4 separate regions of the Homo sapiens genome follow, and all the other regions are linked to region 3. Evidence: promoter capture Hi-C in 16 types of primary human blood cells and fetal thymus (Javierre and others, 2016). All regions are on one chromosome and are shown on one strand. The core of a region is centred on a gene start or on the middle of the fragment in contact, and the rest is flanking DNA. Distances in the headings are between cores, read along the strand shown. Region 1 overlaps UIMC1 (ubiquitin interaction motif containing 1). Region 2 has its middle 14 kb from the start of FGFR4. Region 3 holds the start of KIAA1191. Region 4 overlaps UIMC1 (ubiquitin interaction motif containing 1).

Region 1 (2,938 bases), core at 243-2,742, 630 kb before region 3:
TTTTCTAGTTTCATACAGGTAGAATCATAGTTTGTAGTCTTTTAGACATTGCTTCTTTTGCTCACCATAATGTCTTTGAGATTCATCTGTGTCGTTGGATGCATCAGTAGTTTGTTCCGTTTTATTGTTGAGCAATTTTTCATTGTAGAGATAGGTCTCAATTTGTTTATTCACATGTTGATGGATATGTGGGTTATTTCCAGTTTTTGTCCCTTATGACTAAGGCTGCTATGATGAACATTCACGTCTTTATTTCTCTTGAGTAAATACCTAGGAATGAAATGGCTGGGTAATGTAGTAGATACATGCTTATTTTTTAAGAAACTCCCAAACTGTTTTCCAAAGTGGATGTACCACTTTATATTCCTTTTTTTTTTTTTTTTTTTTTGAGATGGAGTTTCACTCTTGTTGCCCAGGCTGGAGTGCAATGGCATGATCTCGGCTCACCGCAACCTCTGCCTCCCAGGTTCAAGCGATTGTCCTGCCTCAACCTCCCAAGTAGCTGGGACTACGGGCTCCTGCCACCATGCCTGGCTAATTTTTTGTGTTTGTAGTAGAGATGGGGTTTCACTGTGTTAGCCAGGATGGTCTCGATCTTTTCACCTCGTGATCCACCCGCCTTGGACTCCCAAAGTGCTAGGATTACAGGTGTGAGCCACCGTGCCTGGCCTTTTTTTTTTTTTTTTTTTTTTTTGGAGACAGAGTCTTTCTCTGTCACCCAGTCTGGAGTGCAGTGGTATGGTCTCGGCTCCTGAGTTCAAGCAATTCAATTCTCCTACCCCAGCCTCCTGAGTAACTGGAATTACAGGTGCATGTCACCACACCCAGCTAATTTTTGCATTTTTAGTAAAGACGGGGTTTCACTGTGTTGGCCAGGCTGGTCTCAAATCCTTGTCCTCAAGCAATCTGCCTATCTCGACCTCCCAAAGTGCTGGGATTACAAGTGTGAGCCACCATGCCCAGCCCACAAGTTGTCATTTCATCTGTTGATGGAATCTGGGTTGTCTTTGGTGTTTGACATTATGGAAAGAGCTGCTATGAACATACATATACAAGTTTTTGGGTGGTAATGTTTTCATTTCTACTGAGTAATTAATAGTAGTGGAATTGAAGCAAAGTTAAAAAGAGAAAAACAAGTTTTCCTGTACTTGGCTGACTCACTCCAAGGCCAGCAATAGGCAGGGCCCTGGCAGAGCCTTGATAACACTATCTGAAAAGCCAGAGCCCAAAGGAATGAGCTCCAGATACTCTCCCAGCACACTGCCCCCCACACCCCGCCCCAGAGTGAGGATAAGAAAAGAAAACAAATTCCTTTCTCATAACTATTTCTACAAATACCTGTGTTTCACAAGTTTTGTAAGTTCCTGTTTTCCCTACTGTGCAGCTGCATGATCACAAGCTATGCCTGCGTTGCGAGACCTGTCGCAATTTAATTAACTGCCTTTGTTCTGCTTCTGTAAGCCTGCTTGCCTGCCCCATGAGTTTCGCACTGTCACATTCCCACCGCACCATTCAAACTAGCCAACTCCCTTTCAGAAGTGTGTATAAAAGTCAAGCCCTGTCTTTGTTGAGGGCTCAGCCTTTGGATGTTAATCTGCTGGGCTGGTGGCCACCTAAAGAAAATCCTCCTGTTCCACGCATTGGTCTCTCCAGTCTCCAGATTCCTGCAACAGAATGACTGGCTTACATGACAGTTATACTTTTTTTTTTTTTTTTTTTTTAAAGAAACTGCCAGTTTTCCAAAGTGGTTATGCCATTTTACATTCCCATTAGCAGTATATGAGAGGTTCATTATATTCTGCATTCCTGCCCACATTTGTATTGTCACTATTTTCAATTTTAGCCATTCTAATGGATATACAGTGTTAGGCCATTGTAAATTTAATTTGTAATTTCTTGATGAATAATGATATTGAATATCTGTTTGTTTTTCCTTATTGGCCTTTAGTATATCTGCTTTTGTGAAGTTTGTTAATATCGCTTGCTTCTTTTAAATATTGGTTTGTCTTTTTTTATTTTTTCTTTTGAGATAGGGTCTCAGTGTGTTGTTCAGGCTGGAGTGTAATTTTTGGAATCCACCTAGAGATGTAAAGTGACATAGCCAGCCTCCCAGTGTTTATGTGTTTAATAAGCATGTTTATGCTGCATTACCCAAGTGTTTTTTACTATTTCATCCTTTTCACACTTTGATTTTTGTATACTTTCTTCTTTTTTTTTTTTTTTGAGATAGAGTTTCACTCTTGTTACCCAGGCTGGACTGCAGTGGTGTGATCTTGGCTCACTGCAACCTCTGCTTCCTGAGTGCAAGCAGTTCTCCTGCCTCAGCCTCCCAAGTAGCTGGGACTACAAGTGCCTGCCACCATTCCCAGCTAATTTTTGTATTTTTAGTAGAGACGGGGTTTCACCATGTTGACCAGGCTGGTCTCAAACTCCTGACCTCAGGTGATCCTCCTGCCTCAGCCTCCCAATGTGGTGGGATTACAGGCGTGAGCCACCGCGCCTGGCAGATTTTTGTATGTTTTCCAGTACACAAAATACATACATTAGTATTCATATAGTTAAAAAAGTAAATATACATATGTTGTGGTTGTGCCTTACAAATTATCAGTAGAGATACTTTATAATTATTAGACTTTAAGTCTTTAAGTTCTGGGGTACATGTGCAGAACGTACAGGTTTTTTATATAGGTATATTCGTGCCATGATGATTAGATATATTTTTAAAAGGTAAGAAAATATTTGTGCCTGGGCATGGAGGCTCACATCTGTAATCCCAGCACTTTGGGAGACCTGGGTGGGAGGATCACTTGAGCCCAGGAGTTCGAGACCAGTCTGGGCAATGTAGTGAGACCTTGTCTCTACAAAAAATAAAAAGTAAATTAGCTGGGTGTGGTGGCACATGCCTGTGGTCCTAGCTACTTGGGAGGTTGAGATGGAA
Region 2 (2,834 bases), core at 240-2,739, 710 kb before region 3:
TCCTGCCTTAGTCTCCTGAGTAGCTGGGACTACAGGAGCATGACTGTAAGTCCTGGTGTGAATCAGGCTCCAGAAACAGCTTGATCCTGGTTCCCAACAGTATGGTCAAAACTCATTCTCTCTTCTGTCTTCTTCTCTATGACAGGTGCTCCCTAAGAAGTGACAAAGAAGGCCACTAACAGCTCTGGGCTCGAGACATTCCCACTTGGCAACTTCTCAACTGTTCTGGCAAAAGCCAGGAGAGTGGAGGTCTTCCCCACCCGGACTACATAAGCTGAGGGTGGGGTTTTTCAAAGAAAAGCTTATTATAGGAAGAAGGGTAAACAGACACTAGGAAGCTTCTGATTATTATACCTAGTGATTCTGTGAGCCTTTACTGCACAAACTGTTCCCAAACTTAATTATTTAAAACAATGTATTATTTCTCACAATTCTGTGATTAGCTGGGCTCAGGTGGCAGTTCTGCTTATGCTGTGGATTGGCTATGCTAGAGGGTCTGGGATGTCCTCCCTCACATGTATGGAGCTGGCTGTTGGCTTCTCTCTCTACCTGGTCTGTGGTCGCCACATGGTCTAGCCCAAACTTCCTTTCACAGGGTCAGGAACGGAAGCTGCATGAGCACTTAAGTCCTAACCTTGGAAGTCGTACAGTCATGTTACTGAATTCTCTGATCAAAGCAACTCACAAGACTAGTTCAGATTCAAGAGACTGGGAAATGGACCCCCCCCCTCCCCCGCCCGCCCGATCTTGATGGGAGCAATGATAAAGTCACATTGCAAAAGGACACAGGCACAGGGAGGCAATGATTCATGGGAGGCCATTATTGAAACAATCAACTGTGTTCCACAACTCGCCTCTTCTAGTTCCTTTCACTAAGCCTCCTCCCACCCCAGCAACCTGGCTCCTTTGACCTTCATGACCACTAGAGGATCATCTCCCTCAATAAGTCTTTCCGGCCAGGTGCGGTGGCTCACGTCTGCAATCCCAGCACTCTGGTAGGCCGAGGTGGGAGGATCGTTTGAGCTCAGGAGTTCAAGACCAGCCTGGGCAACACAGTGGGACCTTGTGTCTACAAAAAATAAGATAATTAGCTGGGTGTGGTGGTGTGCGCCTGTAGTCCCAGCTACTCGGGAGGCTGAGGTGGGAGGATCACTTGAGTCAGTGAGGTCGAGGCTGCAATGAGCTGTGTTTGCACCACTGCATTCCAGCCTGTGTGACAGAGTGAGACGCTGTTTCAAAAAACAAACAAAATAAATGTCTTTCCTGTGAAATCCCAGCAATGGTCCCTACCAGACCATACCCATTTTTATTCATTTATTCATTAATGTATTCAATCACCAAGCAGTTATTAAAACATAAGCACAGTCCTATGCTAGGGACCAGGGATGCAGTATCATAAGACCCAATTCCTGCCCTCAAGCAGTTTCTAGTCTAAAAGAAGAGACAGGGAATTAGATCATCGTAACACAGCATATTAAGGGCTATGCTAGAGGGGAACACAGGGCATCTGGGAACACAAAGGGCAGCCAACTTGGCCTTGGGGGCCAGTGATCTCTGGATGAGTGGAGGTCCCCAGGTTGACAAGGGGAGCTGGAGCAAGTATTAGGCAGAAATCTTGGTTGCAAGTTATAGAAACTCAACTGACTTAAAGAAAAGTCATAACTAAAAAGTCCTGGGGGATATTAGCTTCAGGCATAGCTGGATCCAGGTAGTCATCAGAAATGAGTCTCTCCTTATCTGGAGTACAGTGGTGTGATCTCGGCTCACTGCAACCTCCGCCTCACGGGTTCAAGCAATACTCCTGCCTCAGCCTCCTGAGTAGCTGGGACTACAGACGTGCGCCACCACGCCTGACTAATTTTTGTATTTTTAGTAGAGACAGGGTTTCATCATGTTGGCCAGCTGGCCTTGAACTCCTGACTTCAAGTAATCTGCCTGCTTTGGCCTCCCAAAGTACTGGGGTTACAGGTGTGAGCCACCGAGCCCGGCCTCCTCTGTGTTGGCTTAGTTCTGAAGCAGGCTGTCCTTACATGCTGGACACTAACAGCTGAAGACTATGACTGTGATTACTCAGTCGGGTCACAGGCTCACTCCTGGAATCAGAGAGCAGGGCCAGTCCCTCGGAACCACAGGATCTGAGAATGGAGCAGGTTTGTCACCCAAAGGAGAAAAGGAAAAGAAGGGCTGTGGAGCTGGCCTGACATCAGGTGTACTTCTAGACAGGTGACTAAGTTACAGCCCTCAAACAGAGAGGGCCTCCTGAGGGAAATGTCCTGAGGGAAGGGGAAATCGGCCTTGGGAATGAGCAGAAGTGCTAAGATCAAATCTCTCTCCAAGGCTACTTCTTGGTTGTGTAAGCTCTGCAAGACTTTGTCCCTGACTTTCTCCTGTGAAATCAAGTCTTTGCCAGTTGTCCTGAGGGTTAACTGAAATAGCATATACAGGGGCTCGTGAAGTCACCCTGTTCTCTTCCCATTAAATCAAACAGTAAAGTCCCAGGGCTGGTCTACCTTGCTAGAAAAAAGAAGCTGACTCCACCTAGTGGCTAATGGGGTCATTGCACTGAAGAGTTGAACATTTACAGAACTGCGTTCTGATATTCCTAGACAGATGAAGCAGCATATATGAACAGTAAGCTTGGGAGAGACAGGCCGGGGACGGGTCTGCCCTGTCTCTGTAACAGGGCTTTGCACAGGGCAGAGAGGTGAGGTTAGGTGGATGGATGGTCAGAGGGAGAAAGTGTTCTTCCTATTGTATTTTACACTAGTGACTGCTCATCAGAGCATCTGGTTTGGGGGTGGGGACAGCTCATCTGGCAGGGACTGCTGTGAGGG
Region 3 (2,783 bases), core at 166-2,665:
CAAGAGATTCTCCTGCCTCAGTCTCCAGAATAGCTGGGATTACAGGCACCTGTCACTACGCCTGGCTGATTTTTGTATTTTAGTAGAGACGGGGTTTCGCCGTGTTGGCCAGGATGGTCTCGAACGCCTCAGCCTCTGAAAGTGTTGGGATTACAGGCCTGAACCACCGTGCCCAGCCAGAAAAAGTTGTTTTAATCAAATAGTAACTTCCAGGAAAGTCTTAAGTTTTCATGTATTTGTGGCTAAGAAATAAATGAGATGATCCCACCTTATGATCTACATAAGGGTGCAAAGTGCTATTTCTTCCTTTTCTGACTGAGAGGTGATATACATCCCTTCCTGTGGTGGATAAAGAGCAAGGTGCCAGCTTTGCTTCCACAGAGGTTAAAAAATATGGCATATTTTAAAAGCTCCAAATTAACAAAGGAACACCTTTAACACACACACGCACGCACACATATACACACAATTATACTGCAATGTAATTGTGCTGTTGATAAGCTAATTATAGAATTCATCAAAGACTTTAATTCTTAGTGCACTCAAGCACCCTGGTCTGGAAACAGCGCTTAAGTTTCAAGTCGCATGAGCAAGGCCTCTCAGTTCTGCCAGTACGGCTGGAAGCCTCAAATGCTGAAATCTAAATGTGACATTCACCCTGCACCACCAATCATAGCTCTCCTGAGATGAGTTTTGATGGCGAGCTTTGGACTGGGGTAGAAACGTGGATAGATTTTTGCAAATTCTGCTGTAACTTCGTTGCTTCGCCTTCTTTGTGAACCCTTCAGGGATAAGAGAAGTCTTCCTTCAGGATGTGACTGACACCTCAGCTGGCGCCTCTAAGCCTCACTCTCCTTTATGTAAAAGAGAAATGATATTAGGATCGCCTTCCCTAGGGGAGGCAGGTGAGGTCGGTTCCCTTTTTTGGTTCAGCTACTAGTACGAACCCTGCCTAACCCCGCTGTTTTGGGAGACAGTCCGTGCTCACTGCACCGCTTGCTAATCGAAGTGACTTCTCATCTCTCCCAGTCTCAGCTTCACCTCCGTGAAGTGGGAAAAACAGGATGACAAGTGCTCGCACTTGGCAGCCCTTTTTGAGCCTTGAGGGCTTGGGTTTGTGGGTGTCATTTTACTATGCTACCTCCGTCTTCCCTTAGCTTGTCACGGACCCAGGCACAGCACACGCGCTGAGGAAGTGGTGGTGAAGTGTGGCGTTTCCTCTCGGGGCTGGCGGATTCCACACTCGGAGCTGCGGCTCCACAACTCGCTGGGCGGCGAAGGGCATGGGGAGGGGGCGGGTCTCGCGATCGTGGACAACAACTCCCAGCATGCCCTGTGCTCCGCTGGGCCAAGTCTCGCGCGAGATCCCGCGGTCTCCGGAGGCTTTATCTGCAGTGCTGCCTGCCCGCTGGGTGGTACTGCTACCTAGTGGGTCTTGGGGACCTTCGAAATCGCCGCCGCTCTCACAATGGCTTGGGTCCAGACTGCGCCACAGCCTCTCGGGAGACGTGGGCCCTCGGAACCTTTTTAGTGCCGGACTCCGGGCCGCAGGCAGTCCCGCGGCAGCAGGATCACAGGTGAACAGATGGCGGGCCTGGGCCCTCCCTTGGGGCTGCGTTCTCTGGCGATCAGGAGGGGCGCTTCCGGCGAGGCCCGATCTCGGGGCCCCTCCAAGCCACTCCCCTCTCCCCGCACCTCTTAACCCTTCATCCCGGCTTCGAGCTCGGCTGGGTCGCCTCTTGCCTCCCTGGCTCCGCTCTCTGGGGTCTCCGTAATGGGGCTTCTCTCCGGGAATGCCCTGCAGCTCCCGTACGGGCTTCCCCTCCGCTTCGTGGGACCAGCCCAGCCCGAGCCCCCGCGGCTTGTCCTCAACCTCATCTCCCCACACCCCGCCTTCGGCTAGGGTCCTGGCCCTAATCTTAGCCTGGAGGGGTGGGTGAAGCAGCCGGCCTTTCGTATCCTGGCGGCACCGTCTTGTATATTGTGAAGGAGAGGCAGAGGGACGGTGAGCTGGGGGGTGGGGGCACAGGGAAAGGGAAAGGGGAAGGGGACGTGTCTGGGGCGGGAATGCTCCCTGGACTGGGAGGATGGCTGAATTCGGCCTTTGCGATGCTCGTTAGTGAAGAACTATCAATAACTTGTTTGCTCTGTCTGAGTCCTATCGGGATAGAGGGACGGTGTAGCAAGCTGAAAAACAAGAGTAACTTTCTCAGGCCCTCGTTTTAACTCCCCTGTAAACTGGGCATGAAACTACCTACCTTGCGCACGGACCACTTATCTGTGACCGTGGACAAATTTACTTAACTCCTCTGATTTTTAGTTTCCTTCTCTTTATTATTATTTTTAACATTTTTTTAATTTTTTTAATTTTTATTTTTGAGACCGAGTCTCACTCCGTCGCCCAGGCTGGAGTACAGTGGCTCGATCTCGGCTCACTGCAACCTCCGCCTCCCGGGTTCAAGCTATTCTCCTGCCTCAGCCTCCCGAGTAGCTGGGATTACAGGCGCCCGCCACCATGCCCGGCTAATTTTTGTATTTTTAGTAGAGATGGGGTTTCACCATGTTGGCCAGGCTAGTCTCGAACTCCTGACCTCAAGTGATCTGCCCGCCTGGGTCTCGCAAAATGCTGGGATTACAGGCGTGAGCCACCGCACCCGGCCAGTTTCCTTCTCTTTAAATTTGGGATAGCCTTTCTGTAAGAGATAGCTTAAAAAAAAAACTGGGGTCGGGCGCGGTGGCTCACGCTTGTAATCCTAGCACTTTGGGAGGCCGAGGTGGGCGGA
Region 4 (2,700 bases), core at 176-2,675, 600 kb before region 3:
ATGGTGTATATTTATTATTTTGCTTGTAGTGGTTTTGAATAATTTATTGAAACCAATCTTCATCTTGGTACATTTAGTTTGCTTTTTCTGAAGTAGCTAGATTATATTGTGTATGAAAGCTTATATCTTATTTTTCCCTTTGAATATTATAAAGCAATAATATAAACTCTTTATATATAAATTGTAATTTTAAAGAGTATTCTGTTTTATGACTATACTGTTTTTTCTTGCTATTTCTGTTACCAGACTTTGACTTTTGGTTTTGTTTTACTATTATGTTATTCTGTCTTTCTTGTGTTATGATAAAGGTTCAAGAAATGGTAACTTTGAGGAGCTTCATAGAATAGAGAACATGGATTTGGAGTTGAGTTCTGATTTTTGTGTTTAGTAATTTGTGTGTTTTTGAGCAAGTCACTTAACCTCTTTGAATCCCAGTTTCACGTCTATACAGTGGGAATAACAATTCCTATCTTTCGACAGTTATTTTAATGATTAAAGTGAATTTGTGTAAAATGTCTACTGCAATGCATAGCATAGGCACTGAACAACTGGTAATTCTCTCTAAGGGATCAAAGGTCATTCACTGGGGAGATGCCTCTAGGAATCATTATTTCCTAGTAACCATCTTCATTCACATTCTGGAAAGATTGTTGTCTAGGAAGAGAAGGCATTTTTATTTAAAGAAATTTTTTTTCTGAAGGTATATCAGCAAAGAAGGCATTTTTAAGAAATAGTTATTTTAGTGACTGGTTTCTTTTCCAAAGGAAAGTTACATGATGCTTATGATAAATGTTTAGTTTGTTCTTTCCAATTCGGAGATGCTGCTTCTTAAAATAATACATTAACTCCAAAGAGTGACACTTAATGATTTATTGTAATTCAAGTTGTTAGCTTGCAAGATCCCAGGGGCCAGAGCTCTACATCATAGACTTGTGTCAAGTTCTGTGTTGTGTCAAGTTTGAAAGTACTGCCTTTGCAGTAGCCTGGAAGAAGTCAAAATCTAGTGGATGGTCTTAATTAGATTGAAGTTCTTTGACTCTTAACTTCATGACCAGACCACCAAATACTACAGGTAGTATTATCAGTTAATACTATTTGCTGCAGTAAACTGAATTAAGCTAGCTTAATTAAAAAGAGGACTTGGCTAGGCACAATGGCTAATGCCTAATCTCAGCATTTTGGGAAGCTGAAGCAGGAGAATTCATTTGAGCCTGGGAGTTTGAGACCAACCCAGGCAACTTAGTGAGACCTTGTCTCTACTAAAATAAATAAATAAAAATAAAAAAATTAAAAGAGGACTTTATAAGGAAGCGAGGTATCTCAGAAGTTTTTTTTTTTTTTGAGATGGAGTCTCTCTGTGTTGCGCAGGCTGGAGTGCAGTGGCATAGTCTTGGCTCACTGTAAGCTCCACCTCCCGGGTTCACGCATTCTCCTGCCTCAGCCTCCTGAGTAGCTGGGACTACAGGTGCCCGCCACCACACCCGCCTAATTTTTTATGTATTTTTAATAGAGAAGGGTTTTCACCGTGTTAGCCAGGATGGTCTCGATCTCCTGACCTCGTGATCCACCCACCTTGGCCTCCGAAAGTGCTGGGATTACAGGCGTGAGCCACCGCGCCTGGCTTCAGAAGTTTTAAAATAGAACTATAACCAGGCCCAAAGAAGGTACTGGGCATCTGATTTTTCTGTATCTCATGGTTATATTGTGTCTGCTTCATTTTTCTCCCTGCAGACTTGGCACTCTTTTGCTTTTGTTTTTCAGGTGTAGGTTGAAGACACTGATTCTATAGCTCTCAAACTTATTATGGGTTACAGGAGACTTAATCTCTCCCAATTCAAATTTTAAATTTTCAGGAAAGGATTTATGGCCCATTTGGTGTCAGTAGCCCAGTCAGCTGTGGCTTGATGGAGGTTACTTGTCAAATTGGCTGTAAGCCCACTGCTAATGGGAATGGGAGGGGTGAGGGACAGTCCTCAGTGAAAGCAGACAAGGCAGACAACCTAGTAAGCATATAGACATTAACTTTAATAAAAAAATCACTTGGAGATGTTAAAAAATGCTGAAAAGTTTAAAGAATATTACCTATTTTTTGTATGGTTCAGATCATATTATTTTTGTATCTTTAATATCATGTAGACATTTTCTCATGTTAAATTATATATTTCACTTTTAATGGCTATATTATATTCCAGTTTATGAATTTACCATAATATTTTAAACATTTTTCTATTGCTGGATATTTCAGTTGTGATATCTTTCTATATGAAACTTTTCTTTATTCCTCATCAGTGTACTTAGTCATGAGCCATAAAAATGATGGGTTAAAGAGTTATGAACATAAAGACTTGATATTTATTGCCAAATTGCTTGTCAGAAAGGCTGTTACAATTTGTATTCTCTCCATTTGGCAATGTATGAGAATATCTAGTTCACTGAAGCCTTGCCAACAAATAATTGTACCTTTAAAAAACAAACTTCAACTAATTTTATAGGCAAATAATGTAGGTCCTGTGATTGTAGTTTTACCTCTCAATCTTTTGCTTTCAGGAAATGTGGGTAGAAAGAATTCGTTTGTTAAACATTTTCTATTGAACACAGCTTTGGTGGAGCTGCCTGTATTTGAGACTTCTTGGTTGATAGAGATAGCAAGAGAGTCTCAAAAATAGGGACTCAGAGAAACATTCACTTTGGGGCACATAA

The links. The method cuts DNA at HindIII sites, captures the fragments that hold promoters and counts their contacts. A CHiCAGO score of 5 or more calls a contact.
Region 1: a fragment that was not itself captured here is called in contact with the fragment with the promoter of KIAA1191 in region 3 in 1 of 17 cell types (naive CD4 T cells); the score reaches 5.3 in naive CD4 T cells.
Region 2: a fragment that was not itself captured here is called in contact with the fragment with the promoter of KIAA1191 in region 3 in 1 of 17 cell types (naive B cells); the score reaches 5.1 in naive B cells.
Region 4: a contact is called between a fragment that was not itself captured here and the fragment with the promoter of KIAA1191 in region 3, in 5 of 17 cell types (naive B cells, total B cells, naive CD4 T cells and 2 more). The highest score is 6.3, in naive B cells.

The regions. Positions count from the first base shown.
Region 1 is chr5:176,993,294-176,996,231 of GRCh38, reverse strand. The region is part of intron 1 of UIMC1 (ubiquitin interaction motif containing 1); the gene reads left to right. Among named protein-coding and RNA genes, the nearest start is that of UIMC1, 12 kb to the left of the region's middle. The HindIII fragment of the contact is 4,492 bases long and covers 1-2,938 here.
Region 2 is chr5:177,071,724-177,074,557 of GRCh38, reverse strand. It overlaps a transcript of ZNF346 not described here. Among named protein-coding and RNA genes, the nearest start is that of FGFR4, 14 kb to the left of the region's middle. The HindIII fragment of the contact is 2,298 bases long and covers 341-2,638 here.
Region 3 is chr5:176,360,396-176,363,178 of GRCh38, reverse strand. It overlaps KIAA1191, which reads left to right and starts at 1,415. Exons shown (of 9, transcript NM_020444.5): 1 at 1,415-1,577. RefSeq lists an enhancer at 1,340-1,659. The HindIII fragment of the contact is 14,901 bases long and covers 1-2,783 here.
Region 4 is chr5:176,964,063-176,966,762 of GRCh38, reverse strand. The region is part of intron 6 of UIMC1 (ubiquitin interaction motif containing 1); the gene reads left to right. Among named protein-coding and RNA genes, the nearest start is that of UIMC1, 41 kb to the left of the region's middle. The HindIII fragment of the contact is 2,607 bases long and covers 122-2,700 here.